Linked DNA regions of Homo sapiens: region 2 is linked to region 1. Evidence: promoter capture Hi-C in human tissues and cell types (Jung and others, 2019). All regions are on one chromosome and are shown on one strand. Each heading gives the region's core, a stretch centred on a gene start or on the middle of the fragment in contact. The rest is flanking DNA. Distances are from core to core; before and after follow the strand shown.

What was found. The method cuts DNA at HindIII sites, captures the fragments that hold promoters and counts their contacts. A contact is called where the count stands out against the background at its distance.
Region 2: a contact is called between a fragment that was not itself captured here and the fragment with the promoter of GRIK4 in region 1, in 2 of the 25 tissues and cell types used here (dorsolateral prefrontal cortex and lymphoblastoid cells).

Annotation. Positions count from the first base shown.
Region 1 is chr11:120,509,621-120,515,510 of GRCh38, forward strand. GRIK4 (glutamate ionotropic receptor kainate type subunit 4) reads left to right here and starts at 2,128. Exons shown (of 21, transcript NM_014619.5): 1 at 2,128-2,267. RefSeq lists silencers at 1,739-1,818, 1,999-2,198. The HindIII fragment of the contact is 7,551 bases long and covers 1-5,890 here.
Region 2 is chr11:121,120,597-121,126,730 of GRCh38, forward strand. It overlaps TBCEL-TECTA (TBCEL-TECTA readthrough), which reads left to right. Exons shown (of 30, transcript NM_001378761.1): 14 at 4,706-5,276. It overlaps TECTA (tectorin alpha), which reads left to right. Exons shown (of 24, transcript NM_005422.4): 8 at 4,706-5,276. Among named protein-coding and RNA genes, the nearest start is that of TECTA, 22 kb to the left of the region's middle. The HindIII fragment of the contact is 9,664 bases long and covers 1-6,134 here.

The DNA of each region.
Region 1 (5,890 bases), core at 878-3,377:
ACTCAACATCTTGCAGCAAGGGGAGACAGGAGAGTGGGTGGGGGCAACCAGGCTGAGGCTAACAGCAGACTTCTGTACCGGCAGACTTCGCTGACATTGTTGTCCACCCTGTGACTGGTAGGGACTCCCTGCTTCTAGGGGCAGAGGCCTTAAGAAAGGAAAAGAAAGTCAGAACCATTCTTGCAAGAAGGGGAGAAACCAGGGCCCTCAGGAGGCCACAGCCAAGACTATCTCCAGAGCCATCAGCAATCTCTCTGACCTGCCAAAAGCTCCTCCCCGCTTCCCTGGTTAATAGGATGAGATCACCAGGCAAAAGAATATGATGAAGCATTTCACTTATATAGTATTTTTCTTTCCAAACACTTAATAAGCCTCTCTGGTCTCGCTGATCTTGCATTCTTCCCGTGAAAGGGGCCAGGGATCCATGCTTGGCATTTCAGAGTTTGCGCGGCTTGAGAGATCATCTAGTCTGCTTCCCTCACTTTTAGAGTTATGGGAACTGAAGTCCAGGGAAGTGAAATCGCTTGCTGGGATCACAGGGATGCCTCTCCCTCCTCCCAGCCCCGTACACTTTCTGCTAGGCTTATGCTGCTGTTCCGTCCATTTTGCACAAGAGAGGGGGTTCCAGAGTGGGGGAATAGAGTTGGAATTAGAAATTAGTTTTGTGTCACTGGCTTACAGGTGCTCTTAAACCTTAACAGGTTTAACATCCTCTGTAAAATGGGACTAGTGTCACCTCAACACCTACCTTGCAAAGTTGATTATTGGGAATCACACTTGTGTAAGCGGTATAGTCTTGGCAAACAGTAGGTGCTAAATAATGTCTGGCTGGAGGAATGGAGCCCTGTTCGCATATGGCATTCATCCAGCCAGTGTGTGGAGCTGGGGGAGGGATAGGCACGACTCCTGAAGCAGGAGGCCCAGTACGCGCCCAGGCTAGCCAGCCAGCCCTCCCCGGGGAATGCAACGTCCAGAACAGTCTATAGTCCCGATAGTATGCCTCATGCGTGAGACCTGACCAAGGACGTCTGTGAACAAACCCTTCACAGAGAGCTTAATGAGATTGTGGGAGTGCTGGTGGTTGGGTGTGGGGATACAGGCCATTGAAGGTGAGAGGGCCGGTGTGATCAGTTTGGTGGTCTGCCCAAGACAGAGACTCTGCGGGTTGGATAAGAGGGAGCTAATAGGTTTGAGGGGGTCACGTGTCCCTTGCCCTCCCTCCTATTCCCCCAGGACTCCCTCTTCACCCAGCCTCCTCCTAAGGGCAACTCTGTTGTATTAGGATGAACCACACGGTGTACTGAAATGAACCGCGCGTCAGAAAGCGGGGTTGCCTCCTGGGTCCTGCCACTTGCTCCCCGTGTGTTCTTGGCCTGGTCCCTTCACCTCTCCTAGCCTCAGGATCTTCATGCGTAACATGAGATCCTCCCAAGATGTTGGTATGTATACAACAGTGCTCTGGAATGACTCCATGCAAGCTGTTGCTCTTCAGTCTCCTGAACAAGGTGCTCTTGTCTCGTCCCATGAAACCTCCACCTCTCCATCTTCCGCACCACTGAGGCCGCAGTCTCTTCTAACGGGGCACGCTCGTCCCCCGCGCTGTTTCCCGAATGCCACCAGGGGGCGCCCCTTGCTCGCTGAAGCCGCCGGGCTAATAACTCCTCGGGGCCGGGGCGGGCTGCCCCTTTGCGCAGGGCGGTGGAGTGTGCGGGCTGCGCCGGGTTCCCCACCTGAGGTCCGTACCTCGCAGAGCCCGCTTGGCCGCGCGCCCCTAGCCTCTGCCGGGCGCCGCTCCCCAGCCGGGCGCCTCTCGCTCGGCCCCGGGCCCCCGGGCAGCCGCAAGTTTGCCCCCGGCCGCGCGGACCCGCGCCCGCCCTGCCCGCAGCAGCCCCCGCCGTTCCCGCCGCCCCCGCCGCCCCCGCGCCTGGGCTCCCGGGCGACGCTCCGAGGGGCGCTGGGGGGCGCGTGCAGCTGCCCGCGGGGCTCCGGCCCGGCCCCGAAGGGGCGCCCCCCCGGCCGGCCGTGCGCGGGGCCGCAGCAGTTCCCCAGCTGCCCGCCGGGCGGCGCCCCGCGCCTCGCTGCGCTCCTCCCGCGCTCCCCGCGCCGGGCTCGCTCGCAGCCGGACACAGACTGCCTTCAGCTGCGGGCGGATCGGGCTGGAGCCGCCACGGCTGCTGCGGAAGAGGAAAAACGGCCAACAGCAGCCCCGCGGCCGGCCCGGCAGCGCCCGGCCCCCGGCTCAGCCCCCGGAGTGCGGAGCCGACCAGGTAAGGGCAGCGGCCCCCCGCGGCGCCCCCGGCCCGCTCCCTGCGCTGCCCCCGCGCCCCCGAGTCCCCTCCGCGCTGGCCCTTCCCGCACCCCGACTTCTGACGTCTCCGCCGCTCCTGCCCTCGGGGGCCGCGGCCCCGCACCCCTGCCCCGGCCCCCGCCCCCGCGCCCTCCTCCCCGCTCCCGCCTCCCGCCAGCCCGGTCCCTGGCACTTCGGTCCCTGCGTCTCCAGATTCGCCGCCGAACCCCCCACCGCTCTGCTCCCGTAGTTCCTCCAGTCTTCACCCCGGTCCGTCTCCCTCCCTCCGCATCCCTTCCCCGGGCTCGCGGTCCTCCCGCTCTGGTCCTCCCCCTCCCCGTGCAACTCCCAGCCCTGCCTCTGTCCCCTGCAGGGATGACAGCCCCTTCCCAGCCTGGCGCGTCTCCCCTACACCTCGTCACCCTCCGCTTCTCCCAGCGCCTCTGTTCCCCGGCTGCAGCCCCCCATCCCGGCTCAGCCTGGCATCCCACCAAGCCCCCTCCCCCTTTCCTCACTGCCATCTGCCTCGACTGCCCCCTGCCCCTGCACTGGACTCGGGCCACCACCACACCCCCCCACCCTGCACACCGCCTTGCTTGGGGGAACCAGCGTCCTATCAGAAATGATCCTCTTTCCCGGGGAGAATGGGGCTCCCACCCATCCCACCCTAGTTCATCCGAGTGGGAAGTGAGGGAGAAACTCTAGAGACCTGCAATGGGCGCGTGATGGGGGAGGGGGCTGGGGCGGAGGGGGAGGGGAGCTGATTTAGATTCTCTTCAGTGAGGACTGGCAGAGCTGTGCGCTCCGACCTGGCTGGGGTGGAGGGCGTGCAGGCGACAGCTGGGACAGGGGGTTCAAGGCACTGAGAGCACCTGTGTCTCTTTCCCTGGCTCCCTTGAGCTGAGCAAAGTGAGGGGAGGAGTTGGAGCCTGGGGAGAGTTGGCTGAGGGCCTTGGGGTGGTGGAGGAGGCGGCCGAGGGGGCTGGGCCCCGGGCGCCTCTGGCCCGTCTGCCTGGCAGTGGTGGGGCAATGCGGGCCGAGCCACTCCCGGGCTGGACCTTGGGCTGCGTGGCTCTTGGCATCTGTACTTGATGCTGCCATCTTCCTCTTGGTGCTGTTGTCTGGTGATGCCACGCGGTGCCACCTCCCTGCCTCCCTCCAGTGGCTCTCCTGGGCATGTCTCCCAAGGGTCTGGGTTGTCTGGGAAGAGGAGGGGAGCTCTGAGCACAGCTGGGCCCTTTTGCCAGGCAGTGGGCAGCTGTCAAGACCAGGCCAAGAGGTCTGAGGGCTGGTCAGGAGGACTGAGCCCTGCCAGGAACAAAGAACTACCTTCACTTTCACTCCCTATGGGTCACCTGGTTGGTAGTGACACTTCTAGGAGCACCGGGAAACTGCGGGCGTGGTATCTCCGGGGAGAGAGGCCGCCTGGGTTGGTAGTGGGCATCTGAGAGACAAATCCGGTCCTGCCTGACTCCCTGACTGTCTGTGCTCGCGTGGTCAGGGGCGAGGGGCTTGTCGAGGTCCACTGTGTTCCGGTCCCACCAGGGATGGCAGCCCCTGGAATTCCACTGGGCGTCATCATGCTGGCTTTATTTGCTGAAGCTGCAGCTCAGGCTTCATCATTAATCAGGTTTATTATTTTTCTCACTGGCCAGATGTGTTCCTCAAGGTCACGACCCTTCGGAGAGTTAATCTAATATGCACACATTACAGTGTCTGGGTTTGTTTAATTTTCCATATTTTGTTCATTCCTTGTGGCCCGGGCTTGCCCACCAGCCTCCCGCCTGCCTCACCAGCTCCACCCCTCTGTCCTCCTCTGGACCTGCCACCTGAAACCCAGAGGCAGCACTGGTCCCTCCGGGTGGGGAAGAGGTGGATGCTCGGGAGGGGAGGTTGAGAGGGGATCTTGGTTTTCTGTGTTTTTCCCATCCCCCTACCTGGGCATCTTGATCGGTGGCTGCTGTCTTCCCCAGCAATGAAAATTCTTCCGAGAGCCTGGGTCGGCTTCGTGGTCTGATTTCCACTTTGGTTTTCCCTTAGGATGGAGAGGGAACTTTAGTACCGGGAGAGAGGCAGAGACTCTAGGAGAAAGTCCCAGCTGCAGGGAGTCAGGGCATCCAGGAGAGAGGAGCTCAGCTGCTTCTGAGGTGGTTCTCAGCCATCCAGAGATGGAAGGGAGGACAGGGGGACCGGCCCTGGGTTGGGGGAGAGACTGCTCAGAAGGCAAGAGAAGCAGCGAGGCGGAAGCTGGCCTTTGTGTGGCTGGCGAGGGTGGGCAGCGCCAAGCGTGTGTGGGAAGGATGCATCTCTTGGTGCTTCTGCATAGTACTAATCCCTTATGTGTGTATGGGGTTCTGCAGCATTCCAGATGCCTCTCAGAACAATTACTTCATTTGATCTCTACTACAGCCCTGCAAGCATCTGATCGCTCCTTACAGACAGCCTTATAAGGAGGCATTCATGACCCAACAGAAACTGAGGCTCAGAGAGGCTGGATGCCTCATCCAAGGCTCCACAGCTGGGTCCCAGGCCCCTGGACGCTCAGTCCAGTGCTGTTGGGCTCGTTGCTGTTGCTTTTTAAGGTCTCAGCTGTTTGGTTCTCAGAAAGCCCACCCTTGGTCCTGCCTGTTCCTCAGTTCATCCCCTTCGCCCTCTCCAGTGATGGCTCACCGTTTTCACCCCCACCCCAGGCCTGGTGGAGTCTTTGCTCTGTAGTCTCCTCAGCCTTAGACTGGCTGCCTGGGTGTCCCGCCACTCCCTAGACCCAACCAACCACCCCCTACCCCAAGTGGGCACTGCCTCTTGCCTCCTCCTTGTGGAAAGAACGGCTGGGTTCCCCCAGGCATGCAGCCGGGGTGCCTGGGGCACCCTCCTTCCCTCTCTCTGGTGCCTTAGGCCTCAGCCCACTCAGTTCTTCTGGGCACTTCGAGTGTCCACTCCGACCTTTGCTCTCCCACTGCCGTGGTCCCTACTTGGGCCTTTGGCTGTTCACCCTGAGTTACGGTCCTGAAAGCTTCCTTGTTGGGCCTCCAGCCTCAGTTTCCAGCCATCCTGCCGCTGTGCCTGTCTTCTTACAGAGGGTAACGCTTCTCACAGGGGACCCTGTCTCAGCAGCCGTCAGTGGCAGTGCCTTCCAAGATGCCTTGCAGGTGAAGGCCCTCTGCACGCTGACCCCAACTTTATGTCACAACGTGGTGTCTGGCATGATCTTGTCCCCCCTCCCCTGGCCACCCAGCCCTGGCACTGTGTGTCCTCACCCTGGCCCTTTGCATTTCCTCCTCTTTTCCTCCCATCCATATATTGCCCAGCCTTCAAGGTGCTGCTGGAAGAGGAACCAGTTCCAGCTACCAAGTATCAGGCAGACCTGGGTTCCTGTCCTCACATCACTCCCTGCATGACCTCGGACAAGTTGCCTCACCTCTCTGAGCCTCACTGCCCTCACCTGTAAAATGGGGACTCTGAGCCTCACTGGCCTCACCTGTAAAATGGGGATAAATCTCACCTGCTTCAGAGGGTTAGCAGCATGGAATGTGAGTGGGAGTGTGACTCGTCCAGTGTGAAGGGCACCTGCATGGGTATGGAGGGCACATTCTCTGAGTGGCC
Region 2 (6,134 bases), core at 1,826-4,325, 610 kb after region 1:
CAGCACTGTCTCCATATGCTGGGATTAGGAGCTGGGTTCTGTACATGGATTTTCCCCACTGAACTGTTCTCAAATAACAAAATAAACAGTTTAGGATTAGATATACCAGTAGGACCAAAAAAAGGCAGCATAAGTAAAAATCCATCTAGAAAAAGCGCCTCCTTCTAGCTAATACCAGTTCTCATCTTTCTTCCCCGCGTGAACACGAGTAGTTTAGGGTGCTCCAGTGAACAGGGAGCCAAGGCCAACTAGCCCATGGCGATGAGCAGCTTGGACTCTAGGGCTGGACCTGTTCAAATTCCTATGCCACCACTGCCAGCTGAGTGGCCTGTTTGAGCTTCGTTTTCTTTGTGAGACAGGGCCCTCTAGGAGGCAGAGCTCCTGGGCTGTAGCTGGCCTTGGCGGCCTCTCCTCAGCACTGGGATACAGGCAGCAGGGAGAAGTGGAGAGAACCTGGCTTTGGAGCTCGACTAGGAGGGGTCAGGCTCTGTCACTTGCAAGTCACACCAGCCCCCATCCTCAATTTCCTCATCTATAAAAGGAGAAAATGATAAGGACCTCCTAAGGCTGTTATGAGAATTAAATAGAACAGCCACAGGGCAATGTCCAGTACAAAGCCTGGCACACAGTAGGTGCTCGGTGCATGCTGGCTCCCTGTGACCATTCCCATGGAACTTTCTTTCAGTTCCAAGACCTGTGCCTCCGTGACTCCACTTCTCTCCTCCTCCCCCTGCCCCTACCCACATCCTGGGAGAGGTACTGTGGAAGAGTGAAATGGCCAGAATGCAGGCAGAAGAAAAGCAAGCAAACAGGCGAGGCTTATCAGCTGTCTGCTAACCATAGGTTGAGGACAGGGTCAGAGGAATGAAGCAAGGAATTACATTTGGGGACAAGAGTTCTCTGGGATCTCCTGCTCTAAGCACTGTGGGACACAAGCACAATGACTCTATAGGGAGAGTGAAAGGGGGTGCAATGATCACTTATGCCAGAAAAAAAAAGGTATCAACTGGAACATTACTGACACCCACAGTCACCCAGGTGTCAGGTCAGCCTGAGTGCGACAAGAACAGAGGCAGGGAAACTGGCGTCCTGAGGGTTGTGATGGTGGGGGGACTGTAGAAATATCCAGAACCAGCCTACCCCATGGCTTCTGCTTTGGGACACAATAAGACTTTGTCCCTTGCTAGCAGGAGCTTAAGTAAGAGCAGAGGAGCCCATTCAGCAGTTGACGTATTTGACATTCATAATTATACCAACATTGGGGAAGATTTCCCCTTCCACTTACCAGCACAGAACAATGGATAAGTGTTCAGCACTCTTACTAGCTGACCTTCCCTATAATATGGCTCTTCTCTCCCTTTTTTCTTAGGGTAGGAAAAGCCATATTATAGGCAAGGTCACCTAGTAAGAGTTGGCTAACCCTCTACCTAGGAGACAAGAATAAATTAATCAACTCCTTGGTTTTTCTTTCTACTTCTAGCTCTCTGCAGGATGGTTTATTTCTCAAGCTTATTTTCTTATTCCCTTCCCCCATTGCTATGATCTAAATATTTGTGTCCCCTCAAAATTCATATGTTGAAATTCTAACTCCTAAGGTGATGGTATAAGGAGGTGGGACCTTGAGGAGGTGATTATGTCATGAGGGTGGAGCCCTTATGAATGGGATTAGTGCCCTTAGAAAGGAGGCCAGAGGGAGCTCATTTCTTCTTTCACCATATGTGAACACAGCTGGAAGGTGCCATTTATGAACCAGAAAGTGGGCTCTCGCCAGACAATGAATCTGCTAGCCCCCTGACCTTATACTTCCCAGCCTCCAGAACTGTGAGAAATAAATTTCAGTTGTTTATAAGCTACCCAGTTTATGGTATTTTGCTCTAGCAGCCCAAACAGACTAAAACAGAAGATTGGTACCAGGAGTGGGGTGCTGCTGTAATAAATACCTAAAAATGTGGTAGCAGTCTGGGCACGGCGTCTCACACCTATAATCCCAGCACTTTTGGAGGCCAAGGAGGGCAGATTGCTTGAGCTCAGGAGTTCAAGACCACCCTGGGCAGCATGGCAAAAGCCTGTCTCTCCAAAAAAAAAAAAAAAAAAAAAGAAAGCCAAAATAGCCAGGTGTTGTGGCATGCACCTGTAGTCCCAGCTACTCAGGAGGCTGAGATGGGAGGATCACTGGAGCCAGAGAGGTTGAGGCTGCAGTGAGCCACGTTTGTGCCACTGCACTCCAGCCTGGGAGACAGAGCAAGACCCTGTTTCAAAAAAAAAAAAAAATGGTAGCAGCTTTGGGTAATTGGTAGAGGCTGGAAGAGTTTTGAAGTACATTCTAGCAAAAGCCTACATTGTAGTGAATGGACCATTAAGGGTGATTCTGGTGAGGACCAACTACTAATCTATAGAGACAGAGAGCTGCATGTGGCGCCTGCCACGGTAAATTTTGGAAGGGATGCTCAGACCATCATCTCATCGCCTAGACAACTCAGAAAGTAGCAACAATGATGACAGGTAAGAGTGCCAGACAGTCTCATGTGCCAGAAATCAGTGTGGGTCCAGGACACCCTGGAAAGTTTATGTGCACTTATAGTCAAGCCCACCGAGGACTGTTCTAAGACAAGTCATTCCATTCCAGCCCATGAGCATGGATGTCCATAGGTGCTAGGCATAGTAAGTGTGAAAAAGAAAATTAATTCTCTCTCTTTGAGGCTTATCAAGCCACTTACTCACCCGTACTAGATGCCTGGGGCTCACTCTTGATTATTCCCTCATTTCTCATGCCCCATTGCAAAACCACCACGTCCAGCTGTGTGTGTTCTATAAGCTCATCCCTCCCTCTCATGTCTGCAGCTAGTTTAGGCTTTCATCCTCATCACCTCCCTGGACTCCTGCAGCAGTTGCCTGTCTGGCTTCTCTGTTTCTAATCTCAACTTCCTTCAATAATTTCTTCACGCTAGCCAGAAGGAGCTTTCTAAAACACAAATCTGGTGATGTCATTCCCTTGCTTAAAAGCCTTCAAGGGCTCTCCCTGCAGAATAGAAATCCAACTTTTGTTTTGTTTTTAACATGGCTTAAAAGGCCCTCCAAGACCTGTTCTCAACACAAAAGCCAGAGCAATTCTTTTAAAGCAGAAGTCAGATCGTGCGGACTTTTTGTTTTAAACACTCCCTGGGCTCTCCATCTTGCTCAGAGTCAAAGCCAAAGTCTTTACAATGGCTGACGGGCCCTGCTTGTTCTGGCTGCTCTTCTCACTCTGACGTCATCTATTGCTGCCCTCTCCTGCTGTCTCTCTCCAGCCACGTCCCCTACACCCCTTGTAATCCTGGGAGTGCCCAGGTATGTTCCCAACCTAGGGCTGCTGTTCCCTCCTCAAGAGCCACTCTCACCCTAGATAACCACATGGATTTCTTCCTTATCTCAGATGTCTCCTTCCCAAGGAAGTCTTCCCTGACCATCCTATTTAAAATTAGAAACACTTTTCCTTAGCACTTTTTAGAAAAGTATTTCCTGCTCTTTATTTTTCTGCATTAACACTCATCTGACATGAGTTTTACTCATTTATTTTGCTTGTTGTTGGTCTCCCCAGCTAAAATGTAAGTTCCACGAGGCAGAGATTTCTGTTCATTTCACTTGCTGCTAATCCCCAACTCTTAGAACAGTGCCAAGTACATAGAAAGGCATAAATGCGTATTTGTAGAATGAATGGACCTTGCCTGTACCTCCAGCCTCATCTTCAGCCATCTCTTCCCTCTGTAGTCCAGTAACACCTCAGTGTCTGCCCCCCAACCCCACCCAGCTGTTCCTCACCCTCCTGCCTCTGCTCTCTTGTCCTGGATTTCTCTGCCCTTCCCCCACTCTTCCTTTGGCCACTTCTGTTTATCTTTAAAGACCCAGGTTAGACTTAACTGCTTCTAAAAAACTTATGTGATTCCCCTATGCTGGATTCAATGTTCATTTACTGCTCTCCCATTTTATCCTCTATTGACTCACAGTTAAAGAGTATGCTGTAAGTATCGATGCATGTCCCTCTTCTTCAGCAGACTGAGGGCTCCTTGAGGGGCAGGGGCAATTATGTTTTTTAACCCTTTACATCTCAGTTCCTGACATAGTGCTTGGTACCTAGCAGGTGTTTAATTGTGTTGTTGTTGAATGGTTACATGACGTAGTTCTGATACAAGGAAGTTACAGAGTACAACACTTGGAGAATACTACATCAGGACAGCCTCAAAGCTAAATGGTGTCCAGCAGTGGACCCAGCACACACTCGAGCTGAGAGTGGGGTGAGGAGGACTAAAGGCAGGAAGGGGGTCCTGGAAAATGCATGACTTAAGCTGAGACTTAAAGAATGGATATTTAGAGGAATGCAGAGGAAAAGGGAGGTGACTGGTCTTTGAAGAAAAGATATGAAGCTAGCCAAGAGCCAGCCAGGAAATGTTGACAACCACACAGTCCCCAGAGGAGTCCGTAGTGGCACTCTGTATGCCACAGCAATCACAGCCCATATACACAGTGCGTGGGCTGGCCCACAAGCAGCTCTCTCCATTTCCCCCCCGGCCTTTGCCTTAATCAGAGGGAAGCCCACTGGAGCCTGGACCGTTTAGGTGGCCATTCTCTCTGGAGTGTTGAGTTGCTTTGCCTTCCTTTCCTGATCTCTGCTGGAACCCAGTGCCTGGGCACCTGCTCACCTGCCTTTCACTATTACTGTTGTTGGCAGGTTAATGACCTAGTGACTTCTTTGCCTGTCACCTTAGACTTGGGGACAGTGAAAATCTACCAGAGTGGCATATCTACTGCCGTGGAAACAGATTTTGGGCTCTTAGTGACTTTTGATGGCCAGCACTACGCCTCCATTTCCGTCCCAGGCTCCTATATAAACTCCACCTGTGGACTCTGTGGAAACTATAATAAAAACCCACTGGATGACTTCCTCCGCCCGGATGGCAGGCCGGCCATGTCTGTCCTGGATCTGGGAGAGAGCTGGCGTGTGTACCACGCAGACTGGAAGTGCGACTCCGGCTGCGTCGACAACTGCACCCAGTGCGACGCTGCCACTGAAGCCCTCTACTTTGGCTCTGACTACTGCGGCTTCCTCAACAAGACAGACGGCCCTCTGTGGGAGTGTGGCACTGTCGTGGACCCCACTGCTTTTGTGCACAGCTGCGTGTATGACCTGTGCAGTGTGAGGGACAATGGCACGCTCCTCTGCCAAGCCATCCAGGCCTATGCTCTTGTGTGCCAAGCCCTTGGCATTCCAATTGGAGACTGGCGAACCCAGACTGGGTGTGGTAAGCTGGCATCCCATCCCCATGACAGGTCTCTCTTGTGCAGGGGGCAGGGATAGGCTTTGGGGGCTCCTCCAAATGTCCTTGTTAAGACTTGTGACCCAAGAATGAGGGGGAGGTTGAAATTGCACAAATTACAAAGAACGAATTGTGAAAGGATCTTTACTTTTGCCCCCACCTAATACCACAACCAGGAAACAAGAACCCATTGATGAACATACATGGTCTGGAAACATGAAAGGCATGGCAGGAAGTCCCACAGCAGGGGACGGCAGCTCCAGAGTTGAGTGAGGAGGTGGGTTGTCCAGAGGTGGAGGTGGCTACTTTTGTGGCTGTTGAGTTAATGCAGCTGTGGGCCTGGGTCATCAAAACTAGCCCTTGGGAAAATAGGTCACCTTCCACATGGAACCTGTAGCAATTGTTCCTGGCACTTTCTTCTCCACTGTCAGACCCTTAAGGGTTTGTGCCCTGCTGCTGCTGCAGATGAGGAGTACAGCATATGAGTAAAGAAGCCCTTTTTCTTAAATATTAGGAGTGGTTAGGAAAAGCCCCAACTTTGAGGGAAATCCTGGCTCTTTTGAATTACACTTTTGGATTAAGCATTTTGTACCATTTAATTGTCTTAGTACTTTTTCCCTGTATCCCACTTAAAATTTATTTCTTTTTCTAGTTATACACAGTTTAAAAACAAATAGATTTCGTTTCCTTCCTAGTCCTTGGTTTTCTCCATATGAGTAAATAGAAAATTGTAATCCATGCATTTGAGAGTGCTAGGGAGGTGAGAAGATTTAAAAGTTTCTTTAAGTTCCAAGGCTAGAGGGAGAATTCTTCCCATCAGTATAAGTTGGAGTCACATAAACC